2 separate regions of the Homo sapiens genome follow, and region 2 is linked to region 1. Evidence: promoter capture Hi-C in 16 types of primary human blood cells and fetal thymus (Javierre and others, 2016). All regions are on one chromosome and are shown on one strand. Each heading gives the region's core, a stretch centred on a gene start or on the middle of the fragment in contact. The rest is flanking DNA. Distances are from core to core; before and after follow the strand shown. Region 1 holds the start of TCEAL7 (transcription elongation factor A like 7). Region 2 overlaps LL0XNC01-250H12.3 (a long non-coding RNA gene).

Region 1 (3,979 bases), core at 543-3,042:
CACTTTCCTTTGCATTATGTCACATAGAAATGTACAAATAAAGTGTACATATATACACACATATATGTATACACTGTTTTGCAACTCGTTATTTTCACTTTGCAATATACAATGAGCATTTTTCCATGCAAATGAATGAGACCTCTTATTAAATGAATAAGATTGGGTCAAAAGATGAGATGTTGACAAGAGTCATATGTAAATCTCAGCAACATCGAATGACTGGAGTAAAACGATAGCAAATATTTATCAAGAAAGTGCAGACAAACAGAAAGCAGTGGCAACATTAATAACAGAAAATAATTGAATTGTCAGAGAAATTAATTAAATGGGATAAGGACGGTCCCGAGAATGCCTATGGTTAGAATGCAGAGCCCTAAATTTCTTTCTCAGACCCCTTATCTCTTCCAAACACCTTTCCATCTCATCTCCCTCCCTTGTCATTTCTTCATCTTTAAAATGCCTATAGTCTATGTCCTCTTTAAATTCTTCGAGAGACTGAAGCAGCCTCTGTCTAAAATTCCCTTCTGTTTGCTGGCGTTCAAATTCTCCATACGGGCGTTTTTCCTCCCTCTTTGGCACGCTGCACTTTGGCTTTCCTTCGTTTTCTTTGCAGGGTTTTTGCATGATGTTGTTGTTGTTTCCTGCTTAACTCTAGGGAGAAAATGTAAAGACAAATTGCTTCATTACTTTTGAATCACGATTGTCAGTTTCTCTCTGAGGCAAGATACTTTCCCATCTCTGCCCCACAGGTCCAGACCTCATAAGTCTGCGGCAGTTCCCTCCACCCTCTCATCTCCCCCTTTTCTCCCCTCCCACCTCAGGAACCCACCGTTTCCCCAGCAGACAAAGCTAATGGCCTCTCCAATAGGCAGGAGAGGCGGAGCAGAAAAGGAGATGGACTGCGAAGCCGCAAATTTCGCCTAGCTTTTGCCCCTTCCCGACTCCTATCCTCAGAGATCTCAGTCTAAGTGCCTCTCTCATACTGACCTGTGCGGGGTAGTTTCCTGCTCCTTTTCTTCCCCCAGATGTCTGTGAACACAGATCCTGGGACCTCCAAACAAAAAGGAAGGGGCGGGGAGGAAGGAGCTATCTGTGGATCAACCAGCTCCAGAGACAAGACAGACGTTATTATTTTGAACCTGGGATTCTCATCATCACCGTCATCGCCCCCCGGATTTCTACCTCCTGGCCCCTCCTTCCTGTCTGTATCCTTTCCTTCAGGATTTCCGTTTCCACTCCCCACTCCTCACCCTCAGGCCTGGGCCTTGCAAGGCCCGCGTCTCCCTCCTTCGCCCCGTCCCGCGCCCCACCCCACCACCACAGGCCGGCATTGAGTGAGGTGAACTATTTTCAAATGATCTCTAAATTTCTGTTGTCTCCATCCCGGGATTTCAGCCTTTCTCCACACACCAACACATACCCCAGGCCTAAAATTTTCTCTTAACAAAATTGGAGAAAGATGAGGAGAAGGATAAAAAGAAAGCATGCCAGGGTGAGAGAAGCCGATTATTTCAAAGCTGTCACTAAATCTCTAGGTGTCTCTCAAAAGATTTCGACCTACCCCCTTGCTTCCCCCTGCAAAAGATACAATTATCTCCGACGATTTTGCAGCGGTTTTGGGAAAGCAAGTCTGGACCTATTCCAGTCATTAGATTCACCCACTACTGACCCCGGGGGTCCAGTGGTTCCTTCACTCCAACCTGCTGGGATTTAAGGAATTTACCTCTTCCTTCCCTTGGCCACAAGCACGCACGGCACGCTTGTCTGCAGGGCAGTAAGGAGCTGGTACCCAGAGGAGAAAGAAGCCCGGGAATATAAGGACTTCGGTTCACGTCAGCTCCTGATCACGTGAGGATTATGTCATCCCCCATCTCTGGTCCCCACTTTCCCCTCCCACCAGCAGCGCTGCAGAAGTGGACCGGCTTACCAACCTCCCACCCCACACCACACCAGGCCCTGTCACTCATTTTTGTCTTTGCTAATTCCAGAGGTCAAAAGTGGCGCCTTCTCCCTGTGGTCAGAATTTGCCTTTCTCTGATTACCAGGGAGGGGCTGCATTTTCCCAAAGTTATATTAACCATTGTTACTTTTTTTGTGGTTGTGCTGAGAGGGAGGATTACTTATCCTTTTCTAAGCTACAAGAAAAGAAAAGTGGCAGTCTCCTCCATCCAATCGCCTCTCAGCCACTAATAGCCATCATTTCCCTTGGAGTCCAATCCTTGAAACCAGATTGGAGGGAATGGGGTGAATTAGGAAAGGAGGTAATGATTTGGATTGTGCTTCTTACTTTTGTTTTGATAATTTCTTATTCTTTTCCAATTTTTCCATAAACTTATTATATACTTTTAATAATCAGAAATATGATAAAGATATGTACATTTGGAAAAAGATTCCAGATAGGAGGATAAAAAGGCCAGCCACCTGTTTCTGCTGCTGAAGTCATAATATAAATATAGACCCTTTAGGCAGACATATTTTTTGAAGTTTAAGATGTACAGGTCAGTTGGAACCTACTCTTTTGAGGGGCTCCCGGGCATGTGAGGTCCTTCCATTAGGTGAGTCACTGAGACCATAATCCTACAGCACCTTGCCCTTAGATTTCCAGATCGCAACTGTAAGTCACAAATTTTAACTAGTTTGAGCTCAGTATCATGCCCTCTTTCTTCCAGTTTATACCATACACATAACCCTTTTTTCTTCAATACTGTACCCCTAATATCCCAACTTTTTTCAACACTCTCATTCAGAAAAGAATAGTTTTTCATTTTCCCTAGACATCTCCATCCTATTTATGTTTTCCATGACCTTATTTAGCCATACTGATGTATTGAAAGCTACTTGTAGTACTAACAAAAATTAGTCACATTTAGCCACCCAACACACTAAACTTTTTGTTGCTAAGGATTTGGGTACTTGTCTAAGTAGATTTGCTCTTGATTTGTTAGCTTGAAATATATGCAATAGAAAGGGAGATGTGTAAACTTCTCATAAGTTGTTTTTAGGAAGATTGCAGCTCATTATGAATATAAAGTTACCACTAATCAGTTTGATATAAATGACTCCAGAAAAAAGTTCAGTGGTCAGAAAAAAGTCTTAAAAACAGTAGAGCATCATTGTCACAGTTATTAAGGAATGACTAGTTGTGATAGAGGCAAAAAATTCGTTTGTGGGGAGAAAAATTCCTGAATCCTCTGTGAACAGCTTTTCATGCAGATGGTTAGACTCAGAGTTATAAAATGGCTGAAGGATTCGGGTGTTGAAGACTTTGCATATTAGTAAGAAGAATGGCATTGGACAAATCCTAGTTTGAATTAATTGTACTTACTTAGCTTTTGTATAAACTTGAATGTAAAACTTGGATACTGCAACTTCTCTGTGCTTCATCTATAAAATGAGGCTAATAGTTTGAAGTATCTCACAGAGTTTTCAGGACTAAATTACATATTTAATATGTGTAAAACATTTAATACATGACTGACAAGTACCAAGGCAGCCTGAAGCCTAAATATGTGGGGGCAGGTCTGGCACCAGGGATGGGGGAGGTGGGTGAAGCTGAAGCCTGCAGCCCAGGGGGTCAGTTTGGCAGTGGGGCAGGCCTAGACACTGAGTTTTTAGAGCAGGCCTGGAGCCTGGGGCTGTGGGATCCAGACTAGTGCTAAAGCAGGCCTGGAGGCTCAGTCTGCAGGTACTGGCCTAGAGTCTGGGACCATGGGGGCGGGTCCAGTGCTGGGTATTACTGGGATGGGCCTAGTGTTGGGATCCAAGAAAAAGTCTGGTGTTCACTTCCTTCTCCTTCCCCCAAGTGGATGGTACCTCCAAGCTGTGCAGCCTGGGGTTCAGGAAGGGGTGATGTGGGTAATGTAAAACTTTCCTTCCTATCCTTTTCAATGTGTTTTTTTCTTATTTCTGTTCTATACCCAGGTGCTGTAATCTGCCAACTGGTTTCCTTAGCTCTTGCGAAATTATTTTTGTGCCC
Region 2 (3,979 bases), core at 1,050-3,549, 110 kb before region 1:
TACTAGGTCTGTGCAAATAATGTATTTCACAACATTATTACTTTTCACTTTTCCCTATCTTATTTCTTTATGAATGGCATATGCCTTAGTTCGTTTGCACTGCTGTAACAAAATACCTGAGACTAGGTAATTTATAATGAACAGAAATGTATTGGGTCACAGTTCTGGAGGCCGGGGAGTTCAAGATCAAGATGTCAGCATCTTGTGAGGGCTTTCTTGCTGTGTCATCACAAGGTGGAAGGCAAGAGGGCAAATGAGAGAGTGAAAGGGGGCCAAACTTGCCCTTGTATAACAAAACTACTCCTGTGATAAGAAATCCACTCCTGTGATAATGGCATTAATCCATTCATGAAGGCAGAACCCTCATGGCCCAATCACTTCTTTTTTTTTTTTTCTTTTTCTTTCTCTTTTTTTTTTTTGTTTTTTAAAGAGACAGGGCCTCACTCTCTCACCCAGGCTGCAATCATAGTTCACTGTATCCTCAAATTTCAAGTGATTCTCTCTCAGCCTCCCAAGCAGATGGGAACACAGGCACACAGCACCATGCCTAGCTAACTAATCACCTCTTAATTATCTCACATCTTAATACAGATTGAGCATCTCAAATCTGAAAATATGAAATCTGAAATCCTCCAATATCAGAAGCAGTTGAGTGCAAATATAACCTGCAGAAATACTCACTGGAGCATTTCAGATTTTGAATTTTTTGATTTGGGATGCTCAACTGGTAAGTATAATGCAAATATTTAAAAATCTGAAAGCTAAAACACTTCTAATCCCAAGCATTTTGAAAAAGTTATACTCAACCATACTGTAACAATGGCAATCAAATTTCAACACGAGTTTTGGCGGGGACAAACATTTAAACCACAGCATCTCATCAATGGCCCCTCAAAACTTATGTCCTTTTCACATACAAAATACGTTCATTCCATCCCAATAGCCCCACAAGTCTTAACTCGTTCCAACATCAACTAAAAAGGCCTAAGTCCAGAGTCTTATTTAACTCAACGGAAGGCATGATTCATGCTGAGGCAAATTCCTCTCCAGATGTGAGCCTGTGAAATCAAAACAAGTTATGTATTTTAAAATACAGTGGTGGAACAGGCAATGGATAGACACTCCCATTCCAAAAAGGAGAAATAGACAAGAAAAGAGGGTCCCACGTAAGTCCAAAATTCAACAGGGTGAACAACATTAAATTTTAATGCTCTAGAATAAGCTTCCTTGACCTCATGTCCCATCTCCTGGACACACTGAGGTGAAATTGGGCCCCCAAGGCCTTAGGCAGCTCTGCCCCTATGTCTTTTCTGGGCTTAGCCCACACAGCAATTCTCATAGGTTGGAGTCTCATGCCTGCAGCTCTCTTAGGCTGGTGTTGCACAGTAGTAGCCCTACAATTCTGGGGTCTCTCAGGCAGTCCACTCCCAAAATTCTACGAGGCATTGTCCCAGTGGGGACTCTCTGCAGTGGCTCTGACCCCACAGTTCTGACTGGAGAGAGCCCTGACTAAGGAAATGCCCAGCAGAACTTCCACATCAAAGCTGAGTTTCCACTGGGCATTGCCCTAGTGAGGGCTCTCTGCTTTTGCTCCACCTCTGCAACAAGTCTCTGCTTGTCCACCAAGGCTTCTGAAACATCTTTTGAAATCTAGGTAGAGGAAGACGTGCCCATACAGCTCTTGCATACGGCACACCTGCAGAGTTAGCATCATGTGGATTCCACCACAGTTTATGACTTGTACCTTCCAGTGTGGCAGGTCGAGCTGCACCTTGGCCCATTTGAGCCATGACTGGGGTAGTCAAGAAATGCTGCACTGGAATATGGGGAGCAGAAAATTGAAGCAGCCCTGGGACGTGAGTCCAAAGGTTCTAAGGTCGTCCTCAGCCTCTCTTTTTGACATATTTCCTTCACCCAGGTCTTGGCACTCAGAGCCTGTGATGGGAAGGGTGGCACTGGTAATCTCTGAAGTGACTTTGGGTTCATTCTCCCATTGTTCTGATGAATAGCCCCTGGCTTCCTTCTATCCACACCAATCTCCTTATGAAACGGTCACTTGGAAACATCCTTGGTTTCCTCTCCTGAAAGTGCTCTTTGATTCTCTACCACCTGACTAGGCTGAGAATCCTTTAAATCTCTAAGTTTTGTTCCCCACCCCACCGCCACTTTTTTTTTTTTTTTTTTGAGATGAAGTCACTCTATTGCCCACGGTGGTGTGCAGTGGTGTGCTCTTGGCTCACTGCAACCTCCGCCTCCTGGGTTCAAGCGATTCTCCTGCCTCAGCCTCCTGAGTAGCGGGGATTACAGGCATGTGCCACCTCACCTGGCTAATTTTTGTAGTTTTAATAGAGATGGGGTTTCGCCATGTTGGCCAGGCTAGTCTCGAACCCCTAATCTCCAGTGATCCACCTGCCTTGGCCTCCCAAATTGCTGGGATTACAGGCGTGAGCTACCGTGCCTGGCTCCCTTTTAATTATAAATTCCATCTTTAAATCATTTTTTTCTCTAGCATTTTACTGTATGCAGTTGAAGGAAGACACACAACATATGGAACGTTTTTTTGTTTAGATGTTTCTTTCACCGATTTCCTAGCTCACTGCTTTTCAACTATGCCGTCCACAAAGCCCTTGTGTGGGCTTGGAAACAATTCAGCCAAGTTCTTTGCCACTTTATAATGAAGATGGCCTTTCCTCCAGTTTATAATACTTTGTTCCTCATTTATATGTGAGACCTCATCAGAATGGCCTTTACTGTCCATATTTCTATGAACATTCTGATCATTACTAGAGGGTCAAAGATTTTACCAAAATATTTGTCAGGGGGAAAGTCAGGAGAGCAAAATCACCAGGTGGCCATCGAGTAAGCCCTGGAGACACAAACTCCTTATCTGAGGAATTTAGAAGTGTAACGAAGAAAGCCAAAAACACCTGGCAACCATCAAACAGGCCATTCTGAGGCAAAATTCCTTATCTGAGGAATTTAGAAGTAATTAAACTTCCCTAGTGCCTAAAGGTTCCAGGCCTCTTTCAAAAATTTTCTAAGTAACTAGAATTTCTGTACATCTCTGGAATCCATGCATGTCAAAACTCATTGTACAACCCTTGCTGACATTAAGGAACCAAAATGTCTACAAATGTAATCACTTATTATGACCTACATGGCTAATATGGTCCAAATTACACTTAAGCTCCCACTTTAAGGTCCGTAAATGCTGCATTTCTTCTGCAACATACTTTTTTTCTAATAAAACTTTCCTTTTTCAAACCTATACTGTTGTCAGTAAATTCTTACCAACCTGCAAGTCAACCACTTTCTGATGCTGGGGCTCTGACACCTCACCCAGCAATTACCACTTAAGTAATCTCTAAGAAGCTTCAGACTTTCCCTACAGTTCTCTTCTTTGAGCCCTCACCTGAATTGTTCCATTTATGGAAATCTAGGCTTTTTTACCCTGCTCCTCCAAAATTTTCCAGCCTCCACCCATTATCCAGTTCCAAAGTTGCATCTACGTTTTCAGGTATTTTTTATAGCAACAGCCAGGCTTCTTGACACCAATTTCCTGTCTTAGTCTGTTTTTGCTGCTATAAGACAATACCTGGGACTGGGTAATTTCTAATTAACAGAATTTTATTGGCTCACAGTTACGGAGGATGAGAAATCAAAGATTGAGGGACCAGCATCTGGTGAGGGCCTTCTTGGTGTATCATCACAGGGCAGAGGGCAAGAGGCAAAAGAGACCTGAATGTACCCTTTTATAACAGATTCACTCCTGCAATAATGAACCACCTTCTGTAATAATGACAATCCATTCATGAAGGTAGAGCCTTCACAGCCCAAACACTTCTCAAAGGTTCTGTAAACCACAAGTAAAATTCTAAGCCCCCAACAGACTAATAGACCTCCCCTCTTGGCCAAGGGCATTCCAAAGTAAATCTGAAAGTCTAGTTCATGCCATGGCAGGAATGGGTGGTCAGACATG

Evidence for each region. The method cuts DNA at HindIII sites, captures the fragments that hold promoters and counts their contacts. A CHiCAGO score of 5 or more calls a contact.
Region 2: a contact is called between a fragment that was not itself captured here and the fragment with the promoter of TCEAL7 in region 1, in 1 of 17 cell types (naive CD4 T cells). The highest score is 5.4, in naive CD4 T cells.

What each region holds. Positions count from the first base shown.
Region 1 is chrX:103,328,052-103,332,030 of GRCh38, reverse strand. TCEAL7 (transcription elongation factor A like 7) reads right to left here and starts at 1,792. Exons shown (of 3, transcript NM_152278.5): 1 at 1,727-1,792; 2 at 991-1,108; 3 at 1-654. The coding sequence starts at 627. The coding sequence ends at 325. RefSeq lists an enhancer at 777-1,276. The HindIII fragment of the contact is 8,380 bases long and covers 1-3,979 here.
Region 2 is chrX:103,439,733-103,443,711 of GRCh38, reverse strand. All of the region lies in intron 2 of LL0XNC01-250H12.3 (a long non-coding RNA gene), which reads right to left. Among named protein-coding and RNA genes, the nearest start is that of LL0XNC01-250H12.3, 37 kb to the right of the region's middle. RefSeq lists enhancers at 1,903-2,589, 2,590-3,275. The HindIII fragment of the contact is 2,150 bases long and covers 1,225-3,374 here.